3 separate regions of the Homo sapiens genome follow, and regions 2 and 3 are each linked to region 1. The links are contacts of gene promoters, found by promoter capture Hi-C in human tissues and cell types (Jung and others, 2019). All regions are on one chromosome and are shown on one strand. Each heading gives the region's core, a stretch centred on a gene start or on the middle of the fragment in contact. The rest is flanking DNA. Distances are from core to core; before and after follow the strand shown.

Evidence for each region. Contacts are between HindIII fragments. The study calls those that stand out against the background at their distance.
Region 2: the fragment with the promoter of ZNF808 here is called in contact with the fragment with the promoter of ZNF331 in region 1 in 2 of the 25 tissues and cell types used here (adrenal gland and liver).
Region 3: a contact is called between the fragment with the promoter of ZNF528 here and the fragment with the promoter of ZNF331 in region 1, in 1 of the 25 tissues and cell types used here (dorsolateral prefrontal cortex).

Annotation. Positions count from the first base shown.
Region 1 is chr19:53,536,391-53,539,640 of GRCh38, forward strand. It overlaps ZNF331 (zinc finger protein 331), which reads left to right and starts at 1,755. Exons shown (of 6, transcript NM_001079906.2): 1 at 1,755-1,906; 2 at 2,826-2,892. RefSeq lists enhancers at 1,483-1,999, 1,785-1,834. The HindIII fragment of the contact is 21,395 bases long and covers 1-2,530 here.
Region 2 is chr19:52,526,265-52,529,107 of GRCh38, forward strand. It overlaps ZNF808 (zinc finger protein 808), which reads left to right and starts at 1,404. Exons shown (of 5, transcript NM_001039886.4): 1 at 1,404-1,447. RefSeq lists enhancers at 23-849, 850-1,677. The HindIII fragment of the contact is 14,459 bases long and covers 1-2,843 here.
Region 3 is chr19:52,396,506-52,399,730 of GRCh38, forward strand. ZNF528 (zinc finger protein 528) reads left to right here and starts at 1,344. Exons shown (of 7, transcript NM_032423.3): 1 at 1,344-1,399; 2 at 1,862-2,114. ZNF528-AS1 (ZNF528 antisense RNA 1) reads right to left here and starts at 1,252. Exons shown (of 7, transcript NR_125345.1): 1 at 957-1,252; 2 at 690-762; 3 at 105-247. It also overlaps a transcript of ZNF880 not described here. RefSeq lists an enhancer at 656-1,855. The HindIII fragment of the contact is 17,909 bases long and covers 1-3,225 here.

The DNA of each region.
Region 1 (3,250 bases), core at 505-3,004:
CAAATCAGACCACAGAGCCTGTGTTAATTTCACCAAAACATGTCTGCTCAAATTATATGTACCATTTTAACCTACCCTTTTCCCTTGTTGATTCTTCAGAAGTTTTCTTAATTAATGAGTCAGTATTATTAGGAAATGTACTCTATGTCATTGTATAACAGACCATGGTTTAATCTGATTTTCCTTTATCCTCCACTGCAAGATTTTCATTTTTAAAAATTATTCTCGACTGGGTGTGGTGGCTCACGCCTGTAATTCCTGCACTTTGTGAGGCCGAGGCAGGCGGATCACCTGAGGTCGGGAGTTCGAGTCCAGCCTGACCAACATAGAGAAACCCCGTCTCTTCTAAAAATACAAAAAAAATTAGCCGGGCGTGGTAGCGCATGCCTGTCATCCCAGCTACTGGGGAGGCTGACGCAGGAGAACCCCTTGAACCCAGGAGGCGGAGGTTGCAGTGAGCCGAGATCGCACCATTGCACTTGAGCCTGGGCAACAAGAGCGAAACTCCGTCTCAAAACAAACAAACAAACAAACAAAAAATTATTCTCTGGAAATTCTGGGTAACGTCAGTGGATTACATCAATGTTAATCTTCTGGTTGTGGTATTATATACTACAATCACCAGCTGAGGTAACCAGGTGAAAGGTACACAAGATCTCTCAATTTTATTTCTTGTAACTACATATGAATCTAAAGTCTATCTAATTAAAAGAGAAAAAGATTTTCAGAAAAAAAGCATTTTGTGAACATACTTCAACATTGTGTACAACTATAGCTACTTCCTTGGCATAAATACCAAAAAGTGGGATTTTGAGTCAAAATGAGACTGTGGTTAAGTACCTGCAACATCCTGTAGACCCTGTGACGTTAGTACTTGGAATGAGAGCGGGACTCACGGGGCATAACTGCTACCTGTACATTGTTTACAATGCAGCAAGCAAGGGACACCGAATAGCAGCTCCGGCAGCCTGTGCTAGCGGCCTGCAGAGAATTCCAGGTGACGCTCCAGAGGGGCTAGGAGAGGATACCCTTCTGAGGACAGCCATGGCTCGCCCGGCATCACCCCACTCAAGAGGCCAGACGGGGTCCCAGCTGGGGTGACACAGCTCCTTTCCCAGTCGGGAAGGGGCGTCTGCAGGGACCAGGAAGGGCTTAGCTTGGGGCTGCCCGCTCCGGCACCGACCTGGGACGCGCCCTGAGGCCCCTGCCTGGGACCGTCCCGGACTACATTTCCCAGAGACCATCCAGGAGTACGCCGTGCTGCATGCTGGAACACGGGGCTTGGGGCTCTGGTTTCCCCCGACGGCCCCGCGTCCTCTTCTAGCCTCACCCTCTCCCGAGGCCCCAGCGTTGGGGGACTACCGGGTGCGTCTGCGGCTTTGGGAGAGTGGGAGGAGGGAAAGGGATGGGAGGGGTGCACGCACACGTGTCAGTGTGTCCGCGTGTCAGCATCTGTGCAGGCGCACGTGTGTGTCGGGCTCTGTTGTGTCTGCACATGCGTGTCGGCATCTGTGCGTGCGCACACGCCCGTCAGGGTCTGTGTGCCCGCACAGGCACGTCAACAGCTGAGCACGCTATGTATCGGGGGTCTGTGTACGCTCACATACGTGTCGGGGTCTGGGTACGTGCACATACGTGTAGGGGTCTGTGTGCACATGCGTGTCGGGCTCTGCTGCTGTCTGCGCGCTGCGGCCGCTGGGTGCGCGTGCGCATGCGCGCTGGCCTCCAGGGGGTGGCGGGACCGAGTGTGTGACGCACTTGCGTGGGAGTACGAGGCTGACGCGGCGGCCCTGTCCCCGTAACTGTGACACGGGTGCACGCGAGCGTCATTGGGGGCGATGGGGGCCGTGCTGGGTGCGCGTTTGCACCAGTGACGCAGCCGCTGCATCTCCGCCAGTCCGCGCAGGTGAGATTGGTGCGCGTGGCTCCGAGGGGAGACGGGCACGGGGCTTCTGACGGTGACGCACTTGCTGGAGAGTGTGGGGTGACACAGCCGGGCTCTCCCCATAACTGGTGACCGGGGGTGCTCCAGAGGCTTTGGGTCAACGCAGCCCGTGCCTGTGAACCTCGGCGGTGCGTCCCTGGGACTCTGCTCCGTGAGGTGCGCTCTGGGGGTTGTGCGGGGGCAGCGGTCGGGACGGGTCTCCGTGGCCCACGGATGCACCTCTGCACCGTGTGGGGTGGTGGGGCCCGTAGCATGGCCGTGCTGGGCGTTAGTGGGTATGAGGGGCGCAGATGTGTCTCAGGACAGAGTGAGCTGTGGTGAGGCTGAGCTGTGCAGACTTGTGCTGGGATGGGTGATCGGGCCTTCTGGGTGACGCAGGTGTGTGTGACAACACAACCTGTAGCTTCAGCGTCTCTGTGCTGGGATGGATGATCGGGCCTTCTGAGTGATGCAGGTGTGTGTGACAGTGCAACTTGTAGCTCCAGCGTCTCTGCTGCTTCCCCTGCCTTCACCTCCTAACCAAGCGGTACCTGCCTGAGAACAAGGGCCGCGGAGGGACGTGAGCGCCTGAGCCTCGCCTGGAAATTCACCAGCAAGAAGGCAGAAACAGCCATGAGGTGACGCTTTCAGAGCCAGAAGTGCTGTGCATGCAGGCCACCTGAGTGACAGGGGACGGTGGCCTCAGGAGTAGAATTCCTCCTGTAGAGGGACAGGTCCCTGATGTGGGAGACAGGGAGGGGGGCAGCTCCACGCGTCATCATCTCAATCGCCACAGCGTGCTCTTCAGGAATCTCCCAGAAACTCCATCTCGGGGCCTCGTATTTCTCATTGGTTTTATTAGGTATGGCAGGTGTTACCCTTCCGGTTCTGTTTTCCCCAGGCCAGCATCCTTCAGAAAAAGCATCCCCGAGGAGGAAGACGAATCGTTAAACATCTGAAAGGGTCAGGTGAGTATCCTTTTTTTTTTATATTAAATGATATGTGTTTATAAGACTTAAGACCAAACATTAAAGGTAGATGACCAAGATTTGAGTCCTGTTTCTGCCTCTTAGCTTTTTGAGCCTTCTGAAGATAGGCTTGTGAGGAGGGTGAAATGCATTAACACGCATAAAACCCATAGACGCGCACCCCTGAGTGGGAGTGCACAGTGAGTGCTGCTGTTTTGTGCTAAGTCTGGATGTCTGTACATCAGGAGCAACGTACATATGAAGGTAACTGGGATGGGTGTTTGCAGGTTCACAAAATGAACCACAGCCTCAAATGGCCTAGAACTGTTATCCTTAACCTGAGGGCCTGCCTTTAACT
Region 2 (2,843 bases), core at 154-2,653, 1.0 Mb before region 1:
AAAGAATATTTCTTGGGCCAGGCATGTTGGCTGACGCATGTAATCCCAGCATTTTGGGAGGCTGACACAGGCAAATAACTTAAAGTGAGGAGTTCGATACCGGCCAGGTCACCGTAGTGATACCCCGTCTCTATGAAAAATACAAAAATTAACCGGGCATCGTGGCACGCGCCTGTAATGCCAGCTGCTCCCGAGGCTGAGGCAGGAGAATCGCTTGAACCCAGGAGGCAGAGGCTGCATTGAGTTGAGATCTCGCCACTGCACTCCAGCCTGGGCAACAGAAATACTGTGTCTCAATAATAGTAATAATAATAATAATAATAATAAAGTAATAGATCTCTTCCACAAATGTGCTGGGACAACTAACTGGATATCCACATGGAAAAGAGTAATGTTGGATCCCTATGTCACACCATCAAAAATTTTATTTAAAAAAGTTTTTTTTTTTTTTTTAAAAAGGGAAAAGGCCCGGGCGCGGTGGCTCACGCCTGTAATCCCAGCACTTTGGGAGGCCGACGTGGGCGGATCACCTGAGGTCGGGAGTTCAGCCTGGCTAACATGGTGAAACCCTGTCTCTACTAAATATACAAAATTAACTGGGCATGGTGGCGCATGCCTGTAGTCCCAGCTACTCGGGAGGCTGAGGCCGGAGTATCGCTTGAAACCAGGAGGCGGAAGTTCTAGTGAGCTGGGATCACTCCACGGCACTCCAGCCTGGGCGACGGAGTGAGACTCTGTCTCCAAAAAAAAAAAAAGGGAAAGAGAGAGAGAGAGACTAGGAAGGGAGACCTGCCGCAGTGGGTGTTACTTTGTCGCCCAGGCTGGCTTGGGACCCCAGGCTCAGCAATTCTCTCCGTTGCTTCCTGAGTAGCTGGGACCTGAGGCTCCCGCCCCCGCGCCTCTGCTGTGTTTAAGCAGCAGGTGGTGACCTCACTCCTTCCTGGCCTAAGCACTCCGTCCCGCACCCCTGGCGGTGGCTTTAAGGAAGTCTCTGAAGCTGAGCTCAGGGTGGACTCTCCCTCCCTAGTGAATGGAGATAGAAAGGGAGAGGACATCTATTCTGTTCCGTGGGCCGTCACCATGACATCGTACATGCCGCCCAGGCAGGGCTTTGCATTTCACATTCTAGTTTGCATCCCGGTTCCAGACAATTCCAGGGCTTTGGAATCATGCCTCAGACTTTCTGGCGCTCTCGCCTCCACAACCTAAAAACAGAGACGCTAGGAGAGAGGCTGAAAGACGCGCAAGTCCCGCCCCGGCCCCGCCCCGGCCCCGCCCTCTGCCGGTTCTAAAGGGCAAGGTCTCAGCGCCTCGCGCCCCGCCGCTACCTCGCCCAGGCCCCGCCCACCTCCTCCCACCTCCCGCCCAGGCCTGGCTTCCGTCCTGCGCGCGGAGATTAACGCAAACCCGGAAGCGGATCGGGTGGAGTGAAGGTCACGTCGCCATGGTGAGTTTTGCTCTGTGTTGCATTAAGTCTCCGCTTCCCAGGTCCCCGCCGCTTCTGTCCCTGGGACGTGGGGTCCCCACAGACCTGGAAATTCTCGCCCGTCTTCCTTCGCCCAGAGCAAATTGAGACAGCCCAGTGAGAGGCCGGGTGTCGCTTCCTTTCGGGTTTAAAGTCGTCTGGAGGCTGGTCCCGTCCCGGGTCTGTCTGCTATAGGGCAATGTATACACTTTCTATTGCGTAGTTTTTCTGCTCAAAACCTTCTTCTGACTCTTCCCTCCTCGCGCTATTTAAAGTCTTCACCCACGAGGTGGATTCTTGCCCGGGGCGCACCTCCCAGCCACCCCTCGTCGGCCCCTGGAGCGTCGCGCCGCAGCCCCAGTCCCAGGGAGGCCGCGTCCTCTGCCTGGTCCTGGGATCTTGCAGACCCCATCCTTCTCCCAAGGCGCCGTCCCCCCTCCTCCCACCTCCCTACTCGTGCCAGAGCCTGCGGCTCCCCAGGTCTCTCCTCCGCAGTCACCGCTTCCATTGAACCCACACTGGGAAGGACGCAGGGCCCTGTCCTGTGACATGGGGTCTTCTTGCCTGCCGAGCTCCAGCCCTTGGAAAACGCGCTCCTCCGGGATGCAGGCGTCTTACTCCAAACCCTCCTGCGATTGTGTGGGCCGAAGGGATCAGGAGACAGACAGCAGTAGAAAACCTGAGACAGAGAAAGAATAAGAAAGGCCCATAACAGATGGCAAAATAGAGGATTGGTGAGGGATATGCCAAGATATGGTGAAAGTGGAAAAAGAAAGCAACAAAATACCTAGAAAAGCAGGTGGAGAAAAGCAACTGGAGAAATGTAGAGAAAAGCTAGATGTACACAGAGATGAAGGACGGCAAGGTAGGGAGAGTGGCAGCAAAGAGGGAGGCTCATCAGAGTGAGGGAGAGAGGGAGGGATTTGGAGCCAGGGCAGACAGAGCAGAGTGGTGCTGGTGTCAAGGAGAACCGAGGGAGAAACACAGCAGGGAGGACACCTGGGGATCTGGGGTGACACAGAGTGGGGACAGGGGAGTATATCAGGGAAGAGAGAATTTAACAGGGAGAGCAGAGGAGGCGCAGAGATGGGTGAAGAGGCAGAAATAGATGGAGATTGAGGACGATTGAAAGATTGGGGAGAAGGAGCAATAAGAGGTTAAATAAGTTGCGAGGATGGAGCAGAAGAGATGGAAGAGAAGGAATAGAGGGAAGAAGGGGGATAAACAGCAGAAGAGAAGAGGGGTACAAAATGAAGAGCAGAATCCCAGGGAGAAAGAAAAGAAAACAAGAGCTAGAGAGAGAAGGGGGAGAATGAGAGATATGTACAGAATTAGGGAGGGAAGCGCAGTAATGAAGAAAGGGGGGCTAGGCACAGTG
Region 3 (3,225 bases), core at 94-2,593, 1.1 Mb before region 1:
GAGAAGTTGGTACTCAGATCAAAGAAAAGTTCTTCAGGTGACCCCACTGTCTGCAGCCAATGGGCCTGCTTGTGGGCCTTATGTATTTGTGTTTCAAAAATAACCTGAGGGCTTGATGTGGGGGTCCTTATCTCCCATGCAAGGTGATTCATGCCTATAATCCGAGCACTTTGGTAGGAGCAGATGGGAAGACTGCTTGAGGCTAGAAGCTGGAGACCAGCCTGGGCAACAAAACCAGACTACATCTCTATTAAAAACAAAGCAACAAACAGTAGAAAATTAGCACAGTGGAGAGGCACAGGCCTTTACTCACAGCTACTCGGCAGGCTGAGACAGGGGGTCACCTGCCCAGGACCCCAGGAAGTCAAGGTTGCAGTGAGCTATGATTGCGCCACTGCATTTCAGCCTCGGTGGCAGAGACCCTGTCTTAAAATTTTAAAAAGTATTAAAAAACTAAGTTGGACCGGGCGTGGTGGCTACTCTGGAGGCTGGGGCAAGAGAATCACTTGAACCCAGGAGGCGGAGGTTACAGTGAGCTGAGTGCCTGCCACTGTACTCCCGCCTGGGGGACAGAGGGAGACGCTGTCTCAAAACAACAACAACAACAAAAAACTACGTCGTTTATGGCTATTTTTATAAGTTACTGGCTTTTTTTTTTTAAAGAATCGGTGACTTATCTTCACACTGGCCTTAGTCCTCCATGCCCAACACGATGTCCCTAGGAAAGTCTCTGGAATTGAGCACAGGGTTGACCTTCACCGTCTAGAGTGAATGGGGAAGATAAATGAAAAGTATTTATCTTCTATGGGCACTGGCATGAAATAGAACATTCTACCCTGGCAGGGTTTTGCATTTCACATTTTAGCTTGCATCATCCCCTTCACAGACAATTCCAAAGTGTGTTAATTCAATTCCTAAAGCTTCCCTTCCCTTCCTCCCTTCCCTTCCCTCCTTACTTTTCTTTCTTGTCCATTTATTTTCGGTTTTTTTCTCTTTCTTTCTTGGTTTTCTTTCTCTTTTTCAACTTCTCTTTCTTTTCTCTTTCTCTTTACTCTCTCTCTTCTCTCTCTTTCTGCTTCCAGGGTAGGTGGGACTTGAAATTCATTTTAATAGAAGGAATTTTCGTGGATATAATCTACAACCGATTTTGCTCTGCGCAGGTAAGATCCGTTTTCAGACCAAAACCCTGAAAACAAGCGCAGCCAGTCAAGCGAACGGAAGCGCAGGCCCGGCCCAGGCTTTGTCCCGGCCCGCCCTGGTCCCAGCCAGTCCGGCCTCTAGGATGCGCGCGCAATTTCGTGCAAACCCGGAAGCGGACCGCGGGGGGCGAACGCCTAGAGCGCAGTTTCCGGTAGACCCGGAAGCCGATTGCAGGGAGAAACTGTTTTCGCAGCAGTGCGTGAGTTTCCCTTTGTCTATGTTAAGTCTAGGCTAGCCAGTTCTTCTCTGCTTCTATACCCGGGAGCTGAGGGGCATGCAGACCTTGAAATCCCGGCACCGCTCCCTCCACCCCGAGTAAATTCAGACATCCTTTGAGAGTCTGGGAGTCGCTTTCTGCGTGTTAAAATCGCTTGGAGGCTGGTCGTGTGCCCGGTCTTTTTGTCATTTACCCACGTAGACACCTCCTATCGTGGGGTTTACCTGCTTCAAATCCTTTAGTAACCCCTACACACGCCCCGCACCACGTAAAATCCTCACTCTCCGTTCCCCTAGCCTCGCCCTTCTTTGCCCCTAGAGCTCAGCGCCCCAACAGGGCACGAGAGGCCTCGTCCTCTGCCCAGACCTGGTTTCTGCAGACTCCACCCCTCTCCTGACCCACTCCTGCCTTTTTGCTCCTTAATCTGGACCCTCTGTTCCCCAGGCCTCCCTTTTCCAGCCACCGGTTCTCCTGACCCCGAGTGTGGGGGGTGACTTCAGTCTCCTGACATCCAGTGTTCTCTCGAGCCAGTTTCCAGCCCACAGAAAATGAGCTCTTCCGGAAGTGGGCATCTTATTCCAATCCCCTCCCTGTGAATGTGTGGAGAAAAAGAGATGGGAACGAGGCAGAGGAAATAGAGAAATTTTGAAAGAGAAATGAAGAATGAGAGACCCATTAACAGAAGGCAAAGTAGAAGGTGAGTGAGGGGTTTGCAGAGGCACAGTGAAAGAAGGTGCCGAGAAAATAGCAGGGGAGAAAAGTAACTGTAAAAATATAGACAAACCTGGGTCTGTAGAAAGACGAAATTCAACAAGATAGGGAAGGCTTCTCAGACAGAGGGGGGAGAGGAGGAGGGATTTGGAGCCAGGTCAGACAGAGCAGCGTGGTGCTGGGACAGCCAGAGGGGGCAGCTGGTCACAAGGAGAACAGGGAGAACCACAGCAGGGGGAGGCCTGGGATCTAAGGGTGCCAGAGAGTGGGGACAGGGGTGTGTAATATCGAAGATGGAATTTAACAGGGAGACCCCAAGGGGAGCTGAGATGTGGGAGGAAAGAGGCAGAAATATATGGAGATTAGGGACAATGAAAGATTGGGCAGAAAGAGGAATAAGAGGTGAAACAAGTTGTAAAAATGGATCAGAACAGGTGGGAGAGAAGGAATAGAGGGAAGAATGGGACAAAGAGAAGAGGAGGGACTCAAAATGAACAGAATCCTAGGGGAAAATAGAGAAAAAAAGAGCTAGGAAAAAAGATGAGAATGAGAGATATGTACAGAATGAGGCAGGGAAACAGTAGTGAGGAAAGAGGGGGACCCTGGTTACAGATGAGTGGTGAGTTGATTGGAAATTATGATTGAATTGTGACATATTAATTTTTCTATAATATAAAATTTGTTTAGAACACATGAGGCTAGGAGCTGTGGCTCACACGTGTAATCCCAGTACTTTGGGAAGCTGAGGTGAGCGGATCACTTGAGGTCAGGAGTTGAGACCAGCCTGGCCAACATGTGAAACCCATCTCTAGTAAAAATACAAAAATTAGCTGGGCCTGATGGCCTGCGCCTGTAATCCCAGCTACTCTGGAGGCTGAGGCAGGAGAATCGCTTAATCCTGGGAGGCAGAGGTTGCAGTGAGCCGAGATCGTGTCACTGCACTCCAGGTTAGGTGACAGAGCAAGACTCCATCTCAAAAAACAAAAAACAAAAAACCACACATGAAGATGAGAATTGGAACACTATTTATAAGGCACTCTTCTCTTTTCTTGGGATGGACTAGGGTGTGAGTGTATAAGTTAGGAAAAACCAGTGTG